Linked DNA regions of Homo sapiens: all the other regions are linked to region 2. The links are contacts of gene promoters, found by promoter capture Hi-C in blood cells and fetal thymus (Javierre and others, 2016). All regions are on one chromosome and are shown on one strand. The core of a region is centred on a gene start or on the middle of the fragment in contact, and the rest is flanking DNA. Distances in the headings are between cores, read along the strand shown. Region 1 holds the start of LINC01829 (long intergenic non-protein coding RNA 1829). Region 2 holds the start of MEIS1-AS3 (MEIS1 antisense RNA 3). Region 3 has its middle 3.8 kb from the start of ETAA1. Region 4 overlaps LINC01828 (long intergenic non-protein coding RNA 1828). Region 5 has its middle 79 kb from the start of ETAA1.

Region 1 (2,700 bases), core at 120-2,619, 780 kb after region 2:
TACACCTTACATACATACACACACTTCCCACACACACCCCACACACATACCCACATATACACACACCCACAGACACACACACCCACATCCACACACCCCACACACATACGCACATACATCCCCCCACACGTACCCACATACTTCCCCCCGACACATACACACCCACACACCCCACATACATACCCACATATACACACCCACATACACCCCCCCAAAACACAAACCCCACACACACATACCCCACACATATACCCACATACAGACACACATACTCATACATGCACTTACTCTCCTCACACACATATTCACCGTAAACACATACATACCCACACACCCATACACACATTTCCCCCACATATACACAACCCCATACACACACACTCCCTACCCACACACACATCCACACACCCACATTCCCCCACACACACCCATACACACACTCCCCACCACCCCACACACACATATTCACCCCCACACACACACTCCCCACCACCCCACACACATATTCACCCACACACGCTTCTAACACACCTACACACACGCTTTCCACACATATACACAGCACACTCACACCCATATCCCTCCACACACACATGCATACCACCCTACACAGAGAACCAGGGCCTAACCTCTCTATCTCTCTTCTATCCCCGCAAGGCTCAGCCTGTGCCCACTGGGAGACAGAGAAAAGAATCTGAAGAAGAGTAAAATCTGCCTCTACCCACCCCACCCCCAATTTTCATTCCAAGCCTTAGGCAGATAAATGTACTTTTCCACCTGTTCATTGGGGTCCCTGTCCAGATAATCCATCGCACAGGCTCCAGCTCTCAGGTGAAGGCCTCAGGTGAGAGGCTCTTTTTAGATTTAAGAATCCAAGCCTGGAGGGGAAACCCTGTTTCTAGAAAGGGAGAGCTGTGTTGCTGACGGGCGGTGGGAAGAGATGGGAACCTATGGGGTTGAATTCCTGCCCAGTCATCGGCGCTTGGCTACCCCCTGCTGGGCGGGAAGCTCTTGGCCTCAGACTCACACATTATGCTCAGGGTCAAGTCTATTCCCAAGGCTTGGGACAGAATCCACTTACTTCCTGTCAAATTGTTATCACACGTTCCCAACGTGAAGCTGGAGTGTGAAGTTACCTTCCAATCCCCAAGAGGTGTTTGTTAAAGAGTTTTTTTCCTCTGAGCCCTTTGTATGCCAGTTTAAGCAGAACAAATCTATTTATTTTTTGTGAGGATCAGTTTATTAAAAGCATGCACATAACTCAAATCGTATAGTAAAATGATGTTAGGCTTTGTTGAGCATGAAAAGTGTGCTCGCTCAAACCCCATTTCCAACCTTCCGTGCGTCATTTTCCCCTGAAGCAGAACATAGGTTATGTTAACAGGACCTCAGCCCAAAGGCCTAAAATCAGCTTAGCTCCCAGGCTTTCTCCAGCCATCTCTTCCCACAACCCACTCTTTCCACCTCTCAGGAAAACCCCAGCTACATGATGTAGAAAACTGGCAAATATAAGCGGACGGGGAACCGATTTTTAACCAGATCAAGTTTTCAAATATAGATTAACACGTTTTAATTGTCCTATAAACTATTATTCTTAAAGTCACTCTTAACAAAACCCAGACTTGGAGGAAGTTCTCTGCCATAACTGTAATGTGTATACACTATTAAGATAGTTATGAAACCTCAGACACATTTGGAAGACGTGGCTTAATAGTGCCTTTAATACAAAATAAAGTAAAATGTAAATAAAAAGGGATTAGTTGTTATAAGCTGTGACACAGCTGCAGCGACAGAAACTGAAGAAACATGTAAACAGAGAGTGCTTTTAGTCACTCAGTGACCCAAATGTCTTTTTCAGACTCTCACAATTCTAATTCTGACACACTCGTTCATTTCATTTATTTTGCAAACCAAGCAGAAATGAAACGGACCTTCAGATTAAGTAAACAGGGGCTTTACATATAGCCACTAAGCTGCCAGATAGACAACTTTTGGTTTACATGGAGTGTAAGGGTAAAGAAACAATGTCAAAACTGCATCCCTTCTTGCATTTATTGGCATGAAGTGAAAATCCAAATATATTCACCAACAAATTAATAAAGGGTGAACAGGCTGCTAACCTTGCATGGTGCGTTAAAGTGTCAGAGCACTTGAACTGCACATCATAGCACAGCCTCAGAAATAAACAAACATTTCTCTCTGTCAGAATGGGGTAAATAAATTAGGATTTGGCTAAATCTCTGGTTGTTTTGCTCCCATGTTGTGGCCTAGAATAAGCCCTACACTATTTCCAGCTGAAGTTGACTCTACTTGATACCTTAAGCAAATGAGAGAAAAGACAAGGGTGACAGTGTAGGAAGGAACTGACTTGAGATTTTCCTTTCTTATTAGTTAACAGAGTTGTCAGTGAGTGAGAATGCAGGATACAAATTAATGCTTTTTCAAAAGCCTTCACTCTAATCCTATTTTTTCCTTAATGATCCCTTTGTCAATTACTGTTGTCTGGGTGTAGCCTTATAATAGTCATGTTCAGATTGTTTACCAAGGTTGGGTGAAATGGCAGGATGAGGGTGGGGGGAGGGAGGAACAAAGAGATAAGCCTATCCCTGATAAGCCTAGGAAGCTCTTAACTGAATTCAAGTAACCCTGCCCCCTCCCTCAATGGGAGAAGCATGCCAGCCTTCCCACCAAGTTCTTCCA
Region 2 (2,700 bases), core at 32-2,531:
AGATGCCTGGCGGGCCTGATGCGGGGACGATGATCACACCCCCGCGAGCAGCCATCGGAAGGCGCTCAGGTATACCCCGAAGTCGGCTGGGGTTCCGGGAAGGGGTCGCAGACTGCCGGCCCAGCTTAGTCCTTTCCCTAATCGGAAAAGGAGCGTGCTGCCTGGCCCAGCCAGCGCAGCCTCCCAAGGATTAAACAGAAATCGCCTTCCTGAGACGGGGAGGTTCCATCTTGGCCTGAAATTCTGCTTCCAAGTTCATGTTGTGGGGCCGGGGAGCGACGGTGAGGCGTGGGGTGGGGGGGTGGGGGGATGGGGGGAGGCCGGGAAGTGTAGGCAGAGGCATAAAGGCGCTGGTAATGCACCTGGCTGCCCACCCACTCCGTCCCCAGCTTTTACTCGCGGGCCTGTCTTAACCTCCCAAGTGATGTTTCAGGGCGTTTGTACCAGAAAACCTACACATGTATGTGATGGAAAAAAACTAAAAGATCCTGAAACTTAAGCGTCAGAAAAAAGACAGGGAGAAACAGAGAGAAAAAGGAGAGAGGAAGCAAATGATAAGGGATCCTGGAGATGGTTTAAACACACACACACACACACACACACACACACACACACACACACACACACACACACGAGGGAGAGCTCTTTCAAGGCAAAGCGCTTCTGAAGGTTTTGGGAGAACGTGTGTCAGCCCTTCAGGCACACAGGGTGCCAGTACGGAGTTGGGGGCGGGGAAGGGTGCAGTGCAGGCGGCTGGGAAGGCTCATCTGCTCGGCTTTATGGAAACGCTCCACTGTTGGGGGCAACCAACCCCGCGTTGACTCCTGCGAAGTGCTAAAGGAAGCGATAGATGTCGCCTAAGGAGACTACGGACGCTCGGTGGAACCTCATTCCAGACCTATGTTCTCATGCTCGCCCTGTGTCTCCTGCTCCTCGGAAGCCCACTCTATAGAATCTTCAGTCCTACCTCGCAGACGGACGCAAATTATCTTTTACTTTGCGCTTAAGAGTTGGCTTCAATACATTTTAGAGCTCCTAACCTTTCCCAAACAATCTTCGGATGAAGGGATACCCCCAATCTTGCTCAAAACTCTTTCCCTACCTACACCCCCTTGAGGGTGAGGGTTCAGTCCGCAGCTGGCGAGTGGGACGTGGGTGGGGGCGATGGAGGCGCGGGCGGGCTGCTTGGAGGGAGTCAGCCTTTTGGCCACCTTCAGGGCGGGAATAGGGACTGGCAGTTCGCATTCCCCGCAGATCGAAGCTCCCTGCTGATCGATTATTTGATAATTGATTTTCCCCGCAGCCAATGCGCGGCGGCCTGGGCGGGGGCGCCTCCTGATTGGCCGAGCACTCCTCCACGGCTGCCTACCGAGATTTGGGTGAGCTCATTTTCCAGTCGACCGCAGGGGGAGTTTTCTGCGAGGTTTCAGCTGGAGGGAGGGGGAAAAATCCTCTCGGAGCCGAGCGAGCTGCGAGCCCTGCTTGTGGATGTGAGGTTTCCAGCCACTGGTAGAGCTGCTGCGGCTGAGCCATCTCGGCAGATCAGAGCCCAGCGGACAGAAATATAAATACGAAAATAACGCCACTAAATATAATCACAAGGGAGAAGCTTAGAGCGGGAGAATAAAGAGAAGGGGTGAGGGGGAATTAAAGCCCAGGCAATAGGTGTTAAAGTTAAAAACAAAACAAAACAAAAAACAGTGGTTGGTTGGAGCCTCCGAGTTGTAGGTACAGGCAGCTTTTGTCTGAAATCTCAGCTTCCGAAGCGGATTTCTTTTTCTCTGGCACTGGGAGGTTTCGCCGAGCCGGGTTGGGGACGGGAAAGAGGAGCGCGGGGAAGGATGTCTGGGGTGGTGAGGGCAGGGCTTCGCTGGAGAAAGAGCTAGTGGGGCGCGAGGTTCTTACAGGCCCGGGAGAGGTCGAGGCTGGAGCCCCTCGGCGCCTCTAAGACAAAGGCAGCGGTGGCTGCAGCCGGAGCCTAGCACTCCGGCAGCGTCGCGCCGCGCCGCGCCGCGCCCTGGGCGCACGGCCGCCTCACCCCGAGCGGGTCGGAGAAAGAGCCTCCCTCCCAGCGGCTCCCCGGCCCCGGCTCCGCCCGCGAGGTCTGGGCTGCTGCGAGCCCGCGCCGGGTTTCGCTTTCCGACGATCATAAATAGCTTGGTGTTTGTAAACAGGCGCTGGGGGCACATTCCCCGCGCTCAGCTCATTGTTCCCTCCCTTCCTCTCTACTTCGCGCAGGACGCCTGGGCTGGGGCTGGGAGCCGCCGGGGCTAGGAGGTGGGGGAGTCCAGACCCGAAGTGACAAAATGCTAGCATTTTCTTTCCCCCGGCCGGGCGTCCACCTCTAACAGCAAAGAAACCTCTAAGCTGGGTCTGCAGAAAGCCCGAGCCACCTCAACCCCATGTTCTCAGGACTCCTTAGCAGAGGCTTTCCCAACCTGGCTTCTCCCTCCTTTTCCTCCACGATCCCGCTTTGACTTTTCTCCTTGCAGTGTTTAGTTCTGAGAATTCAGTACTTTGCGCATCACCCCCTGCCCCGAAAAACACTGGCAGACCCCAATAATTTCGAGGAAAGTCATGAAGTCTATGCGCGGAGCCCTGTGCAAAATAACTCCCGCTGCTGCCTGCCCGGCGTTGATTCCCAATTTATTTCAAGAGAGTCGGCTTTGGGGAGAGAGTCTGCAGGGGGAGGGAGAGAAA
Region 3 (2,700 bases), core at 177-2,676, 960 kb after region 2:
AAGAAAAAGTGATTTCAGATGACAGCTAGTCTCCAGTATAATTTGTCTCAGGTCCAAAGGAGTCACTAAAATATTTTAACTTCCAGCTCCATATTTAAATGGGATTTTGTTTCATTCTATTTTGAACTTTTAAAAATAATATTCTTTTAATTGAGAAACAATAAGACTACAACCCTTGACCCAATTCTGGTGTTTGTTCTATGTTTTAGTTCAGGTTTCTTTTTAGATGTAAGAAATAGAGACCAACTGGCATTAGCTAGCCCCTACCTAACAAAGGAAGTTTACTGTAAAGGCTCACATTGAAAGAAAAAAGGACTGGTATCACAGTAAAATCTGGTCTTACGGACATTGAAGCTGAATGGTGGTTGGGTTTCAAGGTATCCAGAGTCAACAGATGTTGATTCCAGTGGTCCCCAGTCTGCATAATTCTGCTACTTCCTTCAGTTCCACTTTGAGCAAGCTTCTTCGTAGTTTCTGCCCACCATGGTTTTGCACAGGGCCCTCTAGCAAATTCTTAGTTCAAATCTCCAAGAAAGAATAGGATTGTCTCAATGCATCTTTTTGTGTCAGTCAGAGGTGGAGAAGCTGGCTATGGACTGGTTCCTAAAATCAGGTGCCCATGTCTAGTCCAGTCATTTTTACCCGATTGGGCCCGTCTGGCCAGACATGGTCACCTAGGCAGCAGAGGCTCCTGATGGAGCAGCTAGGCATAATAGGTGGTTCTAGCTAATACAATTGCAGCTATGTCAGGAATAAGGAAAAATGGGCCCAGCACTTACCCAGGTACATTTTGGGGTGGAAACATTGTAACAAAACTGTTAAAAACAAACAAAAAAACAAAAACCCTCTAATCATTGTGTTGCTTGTTCAGATTCTGCCAAATGCACTCTCACAGATTTGGAGCTGGAGCTCTGTATATAAAACACAAACATAATTCACATAATTATGGATTTTTTTTTCTTGAAAGGAAGACTGCTCACAGTTAGCCATTGATCAGTAGCATTGACCCATCGTTGTAATGTAAGTGAGGAGGCAATCACTGGCAGAGAAGCTCCTTAGTAACTCAGACCTTCAGTGTCACAATTTTTGCCTTAATAATTATTGTCAAGTTTATAAATAATCCCTGTAAGTGAAACAAGCAAGAGTTTCACTTTGGTTTATTACAGTTTTTAGTTGCAGTAAACCTTACTTATATGTATAAATTATTCAAATGCCTAGAAATGCTGAGCTATGAATCATATTGCATTCAAACATCTGTAAGACTTTTGTTTCACATTAAAAACATTTTATTAAGGAGTTAATTGTGTTATACTTATTTCAGGAGCTATAGTCAGGAAGTAAATTTAATTTGAAGTACACTTAGAAATGTAACAGATTATGTAAAGTAAGTAATTTTCAAGTTAAAATTTACTATAATTTCCTACCCCATAATGATTACAGGTTACAGCCATCCTAGGTGTGTTAAGACAACACGTCTGTACTTTAGGCTCAAGTTGTTCATTTCAGCAATGGTTACTTGGGCACTATAGAATTTGGAGTTATGGTAAAGTATTCACTGTTATTTTATTTGCAGCATTAATATGCTTTAAAGGATTACTACATGGTTATTTCTCTTATAAACATCACTAAATTCTTTAAACTTCCTTAATTACTTTCTAAATGTGAGTTGGATATTTATTTGGTAAATTAAGTTCTTTTTACATTTTTTTTAATGCTTCTAGGATTTTTGGTCATTTGAGAGGTAGGAGAGATCTCTGAGAGAAATAGTAATATTCCTGCTAATTTATACAAGTGAAGGTTCAAGTAATTAATTTGAATTTTAAAAGATGTAATATCACTTGTATTCCAGTCTTATCCGGTTATAAATAAATAAAACTAAACAATGGTTTAAATACATGTAGGTAAAAAACAATCATGGAAAGAAAAAGTATTAGTAGAAGGTCAAACACTGAGGAAAAATAATGGAATTATCTATTCACAACGGTTTATATGGTTTATATAACTGCTAGCCCTGAATCTCAAATTTAGTTCTAGGATTTCTGTCAGCAAAATTAAAGAGTAAAAACAGAATAGTTTACAAGATAGAAGAAATATATCAGCTCCTCAGTAGGAACTAAGATCTTTGCCTTACATTAACATTTTAAACATTTTAATTGATAAATATAACATGTGTGTAGAAAATGAACAAAATGTACAGCTCAGTAGATTACCACAAAGCAAATACTTTTGTAATTAACAACTAGAACATGAAAATAAACAAAGCCAATAAATACATGAAATTCTCTCCTCCCTCTGTCCACTTCTAATCACTGTCCCTTCCCCCTCCCGAAGGTAACTATTATCCTGACCTTTATGGTAATCATTCCTAGATTTTTCTTTATCATTTTAACACTAAAGCTTACATCCCTATACAATATAGTAGAACTTTGCCTGATGGAATTTATATGGGATTTATTTAACATTATGGAGGAGGGTTGGGAGGTCTAGCTTTTTTTTGCTCAACTTTATGTTTGTCAGATTTATCCATGTTGTCGCACAGAGTTGTAGTTTTCATTTTCATTGCTATTTTGTTGTGTGAATATAGTTCAATATATTTATCATTCTACTGTTGGAAAGCATTTGGTCCACTTACAGTATGAAGTAATTTTGAATTGAATTTTACTGCTAAAAGCATTTTTCTTCTTCTTTGTTTTTTCTTTT
Region 4 (2,700 bases), core at 199-2,698, 800 kb after region 2:
GTAAAGAGAGGGCAGTGTTTGGGATCTCGCTTCTATAAAATTTAGCAGTGCTGTGGAGTCTGCCTCAAATAAGTGAATTGGAGATGCATTCTGGATGAGTGGTAATAGGGGTGAAACCAGTTCCTGAGAGTGAGATGATCTAATGCTTCCCTCTACACTGTAAGCCAAGACCACTCCAAAGCTGATGTTTCATGTCTTAGCCCAAAGGATTTAACACTACAGGCCTTTTGTAATCTCTAAGTGGGTACTCTGTACATTTTAACATGGAACAATGTGACCACATTTTTATATTTTCTATATTTTCAGTCTAATTTACTGCTTTATTTGATATATGGTAAAGTTAAGAGTTTTTGTTCATTCTTTCATTATTCTTTACACTGAAAATTGCATAGGGTTGTAATCTTTTAATTCATATCTATTTCTTCTGAAAGCTGACAATTGCTTCAATTATATTCTGTCACCTTTCTGCTATTACCAATACCTTCTTGCCTAGCCTTTTATATTTAACTCAATCAGTCATGATAATAAACAAATTAATTTACTTCTTTTTTAAGTCATTGAAGTGAAGATGGGAGGGTCACTGAATCAGTCAGGTTCCAATCAGGAGACAGAAGCCACATAGCAATGTGAACAAGGAAAGCTTAGTGAAAAAGGATTATTAACTACAAGAGTGGATTGCCATCTTAGGAGTAGGTAATTCTTACCTATTTGGGGTAAGATTACAGAAATAGCACAGAGAGGGAGCAGCCACTACCTCTAGGTTTGAGGCAGAGGACCCAGTGAAGCCCTGCCTCCTTCAAGGTCTCAGTGAGACCCAGTCTCCCTTGGAGAGGACTTGATCATTCATGGCTCACTGAATGGCAGGCCAGTTTCCCATAATAGTGGAACATCTAAAAAGCTGCCCTCTGCGTTGCTGGGGAAAAGCTGCTAATGGGGAGATACTCATGAAATGTGCTGCCTCTGAACCCTGCTGGTGTCCTGTGAATGCTGCCTACCTTATACTACAGAAGTAACCAGAAAACACACAGAAACCAGAAAGAACAGCCCTTTCCTCCTCCAGTGTCCCTCCAGTGCCCTCTACTGCAAAAAGGGAACATTGTGCAAGCTGGCAAGGGAGAAATGTCCCACTATCAAAAGCAGGGCAATGAAGCGTAGATTAGGAAGTGAGAGGCAATAGCCTAATAACTGACATAGTCCACCCCTTTGGTCACTGAGCTTCTATGTGCACCCATCTGCACGCAAATGAACTTCTTTACAACAACCATGCAAGTCTGTTTCCACCTAACAATGTATAGCTATCCTTCATATAAGGGAAGATGTTCTTATCCTTTCCCCAAAATGAAGAGACATAGAATGCCAACAGTCATTATAACCATCATTAGCCATATTAATTACTCCTCAAATTCAGTCATAGTCCCACTAAGTATCCCATTACCCAGAGACTAAGGTATATTGACAACTGGCACAACCATTAAGAAAATGGAGCCCAAAGCTACCTCCTCTAACCTCTATGGCAAACCTCCCCCTACATGGTATCTCCATGACCACAAATCTTCCTCCTCTCAAGCCTTTGTTCCCCTGCCTAGTCTGAAGTAACATGATCCAGTTGATGCCCACCTACCTACTGCTGCTTCTGCCACTTCCCATCTTCATCATTGCTGCATTTTACTAGCTGACACCTCTTAGACAAGGCCTTGATACAGTGCCCTATGCAGTCGCTACCTGCATGCTCATGGTACGGGGTATGAATGACAGTAAAAATTACACAAGTAACAGTTAAACTTAATCATTTCACTCTCCTTCCCCAAATAGGGAAATTGGACAATTTAAGTTTAATTCATGTCTCTCCCACCTCAGCCAGTTAATAAGAATTGAGTATCCCAAAGTCAATGAGGAAAAAAAAATAACTTAAATTTTAAAATATAGTCAATGAGAAGAGGACTAAAGAGAAGCAGACTAGATCATTCGCCCATGGAAAGTGAAGACTTGCCAATACAATGTGCCTTTTTAGTGTTTTCCTTTAATTGTTACAAATCTGTGATTTGTTATATTTGACCCAGTGGAAGTCCTGCAAGTCACACTGACCTATTAATAGAAACCCAGACTCCAAACAACCAAGAAACAGAGCTCAGGCCTGCTTCATTTCTCTACTTGCACCTCAAGAGCAGCAGTGACCTTTGCCTATCATCCGACAACAATGTGGATGGCATCATATTTCTACCAACATCTCTGTTTGGTGTGTGAAGTTATTTCCAAAAAGCTTCATTCATTTAATCCTCCAGCTGTCTAAAAATCTTTATGGGTGACCATTTTTAGCATGCCCTTTACCCTTTGCTCTCTGAACCCATCCAGGTCCTTGCTTAAGGCTCCCAAAGGTCTAAGAGCAGTAGGGGGAGAAAGTGAAAACTGGATACCTAATGATATAGAAGTCAGCTGGTAAAGTCCATAAAATTACTTTGGGGATTAGCTGGTAGAAGAGGTGGTGCTGTGTTTGTACTTCTACTTTCACAACACAAAATAATTAATGAGTAAAAAATACTTTTTGTTTAATAATTGCTGTTCTTCATTAGTGTGAACCAAGGGCACGGTCTATCTAAGACAATAACATCTGCACCCCATATTTCATTATCACCAAACTTCACATTTCACACAAAAGCAATGCTAGCACAGCCTTACAGCTTTAATTAGTTTCTGCCATAG
Region 5 (2,700 bases), core at 57-2,556, 890 kb after region 2:
AGGATTAGAATTCTCTTAAAAGTTACAGCTAAATAAAAAGAAACCATAAAATAGAAACTTTAGATCACAGCACAAAATAAACTTCAAATCAGATAGTAACAGGCTGTAAAAGCGTGGCTTCTAGGGTCATATAACCCAGATTAAAATCACAACCCCACCTCTTACTAGTGATGTGATCTTTGCCCCTCTGAGCCACAGTCTCCTCGTCTAGAAAATAAATACGATAATAGAACCTATCTCATAGGGTTGTCATGAAGATTAAATGTAATACTCCATGTAACGTACTGGGCATACAGCCTGGCAAATAGCAAGCAGTCAACAAATATTAGCTCTTATTTTTATCATCATTACAACCTTTTATTTAAAATGGATATGCTGACGTGAAATGAGGGGTTTGCATTTATACCTACATGTTTCAAAGCTAAAGACTCCTGGACACCAAAAACCCCAAATAGTTTTCTCTAAATAGATATTAAAATGTTCCTGGCAATAGCTGCTTTTAAATAACTCATTTTCCGAGGCTGAAGCACAGAGTTCAAAATCCCAGGCTAAGCCCATTTATACTGCCCTGTTGTAAGATGCTGCACACAAAAGTAATTATTTGGCTTGCAGACCCTTTGTCACCCGAAAGCTCCCATAGCCACACAATTAAGTTTAGGCCACTCGGGGTTTAGCATTCTTTTTCTGAAATGGAGTCCACATGCATTACTCTGTGTGTGTGTGTGTGTGTGTGTGTGTGTGTGTGTATGTGTTTCTGGATGAATGATACAATCTACAGAGGTAGAGGAAACATTACAATGCTTAAGACTGGGTACTTCAACATCCAATTAGAGTTGGGTGAGTTGTGCGGCAGCCCCAAAGGCCAGATGCTAAAGTGACCTGGTGCAGCCCAGCACAGGCCATCACCTATCCCTCCTGCATGGAAAGCAGCCTCTAGGGATTCCACTGAGCCACAAAGCTGAAGACCCAGGCATGCTGCATTTTTTTCCTCCTAAAGAAATTTACATGCTATTTTTCTACCCTGTCCCTGAGCTGGGATATTGAGGTTAAAATGTACCTACTGAGTAGGTAATGCATTTGGTATTAAGGATCCATCATATGCGTATGTCTTCTGAGCGTAATGGTTCCTTTGGAGCTATTATAGGTATGCCGTGAATAGATATTAGAAATAATACACAAAGAGTGACTGAAGGAGATCCCATATTAACTACTGTCAGACTTTAAACATTATTCTAAAATAAGTTTTTAATTCCTAGGGTTTAATACCTCTATACTTTGTAAACTGAGCACTTTTCAAAGAGAGCTCCAAATTCCTACAGAGCTGTCTTTAAGTGAGCTTTGATCTTTGCAGAGCACCTATCTTGTGTTTCTATAATTGCTGTGGTTTAACAAGGCTCCCTAGCATGTGAAGGGGGGCAAATCCTTTTATTAAGGCTATAAACCTAACTGACCATAGTGACGGAATGTGCAGCTTGGTGGTAGCCCTTAGCTCCCCAGGAAAGAAAAAAAAAATTGAAACCAGGGAGTCTTCATGTTAAAACAAAATGAAATATTTATTAAACATGTTTCTGGTGTCCCAGGTGGTAAGAGGCTGCCCCGTGGTCCGCTGAAAGGTTTGATCTTTGTTAAGTATTGTGAATGCTGATTTCAATAATGGGGTGAAAGCTGAGGAAGTTATGGCTGAAATTTTGGCTAAAGATGACAGCTCTAGGTTTCAAGTTGCACAAAGCAGTCTGAGGGATTAAACCAACAAAGCCTGCTCAAAAGTATTGAGTTTCCAAAAGTGTAATCTTCCTATCAGTGATTCACACTCCTAGGATGGGGAGGATTCCTCATTTTTTACTTTGACTTTGCCATATTAATCTTACTTAACAAATACATGTGGTGATTTATATCATGTTTAATTAACTGATTGAGGGCGCCAGTGGTAAAAATGGCATCGCATTAAGCTCTGTCCGTATGGCAAATTCGAATCACATCCTTAGCCTTGCAAGAACAAAATATCCCGAGAGTCACTGATGACAGGATGTAGGAATTGAAATCAGGTCCCTCCTGTTGTTTGAGAATCTAGGGAGGGTGCCTGCCATATGCCCATCACTTCCAGCGGGGGAAATGACAGGATAAAAGAAAGGAAGGCTCTAGTTCTTCCAATATGTTCAAATCTCAGATGAAAATGATTGTGCAGCAGTGCTGTACAGAGGCCAAGATTCACATGAAAGTACATCTCAAACTTTGCAGAGAGCTTAATGAGAGGGTTTTGTGGTGTTTTGATATGTGGGGTTTTCTTTTGTTTTGTTTTCTGAAATGGCTGCTCAGGGTTTTTGAGAACTGAGAGGCGAAAAAGCTGTCGTTTAGAGTTAAATATAATAAGCAGGATTTTTTTAATAAAAGAGGGAATTATTATTTAATAAAATATAAGTGCACTATGATTCCATAGAAATCAAATTAGGTTTGAATACTAAAACCACACGTTGGGATACTGGTTTTAAAATTAACATCTTTGGAAATTGGAGTTGTCTAATTTTTCCCCTCAAAAATCTATGGTGATTATTTATGACATCTAAAGAAAAAGTATAAATTGATTACTGATAATAATTTTGAAATTTTAAAATGCATTTTAAATTGCATGACAACATAATAAAAGTATGAAAAGAGGGTAAAAAATCCATTTCAATCTTCAATTTGATGATTAACACTTTT

The links. The method cuts DNA at HindIII sites, captures the fragments that hold promoters and counts their contacts. A CHiCAGO score of 5 or more calls a contact.
Region 1: a contact is called between a fragment that was not itself captured here and the fragment with the promoter of MEIS1-AS3 in region 2, in 1 of 17 cell types (megakaryocytes). The highest score is 13.3, in megakaryocytes.
Region 3: a fragment that was not itself captured here is called in contact with the fragment with the promoter of MEIS1-AS3 in region 2 in 1 of 17 cell types (M1 macrophages); the score reaches 6.6 in M1 macrophages.
Region 4: a contact is called between a fragment that was not itself captured here and the fragment with the promoter of MEIS1-AS3 in region 2, in 1 of 17 cell types (megakaryocytes). The highest score is 8.1, in megakaryocytes.
Region 5: a contact is called between a fragment that was not itself captured here and the fragment with the promoter of MEIS1-AS3 in region 2, in 1 of 17 cell types (endothelial precursors). The highest score is 6.5, in endothelial precursors.

Annotation. Positions count from the first base shown.
Region 1 is chr2:67,214,451-67,217,150 of GRCh38, forward strand. All of the region lies in intron 1 of LINC01828 (long intergenic non-protein coding RNA 1828), which reads left to right. It overlaps LINC01829 (long intergenic non-protein coding RNA 1829), which reads right to left and starts at 869. Exons shown (of 8, transcript NR_038844.1): 1 at 778-869. All of the region lies in intron 1 of LOC101927661 (a long non-coding RNA gene), which reads left to right. The HindIII fragment of the contact is 6,157 bases long and covers 1-2,700 here.
Region 2 is chr2:66,432,189-66,434,888 of GRCh38, forward strand. It overlaps MEIS1-AS3 (MEIS1 antisense RNA 3), which reads right to left and starts at 1,282. Exons shown (of 4, transcript NR_046438.2): 1 at 1,103-1,282. RefSeq lists enhancers at 1,111-1,463, 2,333-2,700, a silencer at 1,989-2,088 and a promoter at 2,695-2,700. The HindIII fragment of the contact is 5,363 bases long and covers 1-1,607 here.
Region 3 is chr2:67,392,182-67,394,881 of GRCh38, forward strand. No RefSeq gene overlaps it. Among named protein-coding and RNA genes, the nearest start is that of ETAA1, 3.8 kb to the right of the region's middle. The HindIII fragment of the contact is 1,937 bases long and covers 459-2,395 here.
Region 4 is chr2:67,233,574-67,236,273 of GRCh38, forward strand. All of the region lies in intron 1 of LINC01828 (long intergenic non-protein coding RNA 1828), which reads left to right. All of the region lies in intron 2 of LOC101927661 (a long non-coding RNA gene), which reads left to right. Among named protein-coding and RNA genes, the nearest start is that of LINC01829, 20 kb to the left of the region's middle. RefSeq lists an enhancer at 1,868-2,700. The HindIII fragment of the contact is 1,620 bases long and covers 639-2,258 here.
Region 5 is chr2:67,317,331-67,320,030 of GRCh38, forward strand. No RefSeq gene overlaps it. Among named protein-coding and RNA genes, the nearest start is that of ETAA1, 79 kb to the right of the region's middle. The HindIII fragment of the contact is 3,146 bases long and covers 1-2,700 here.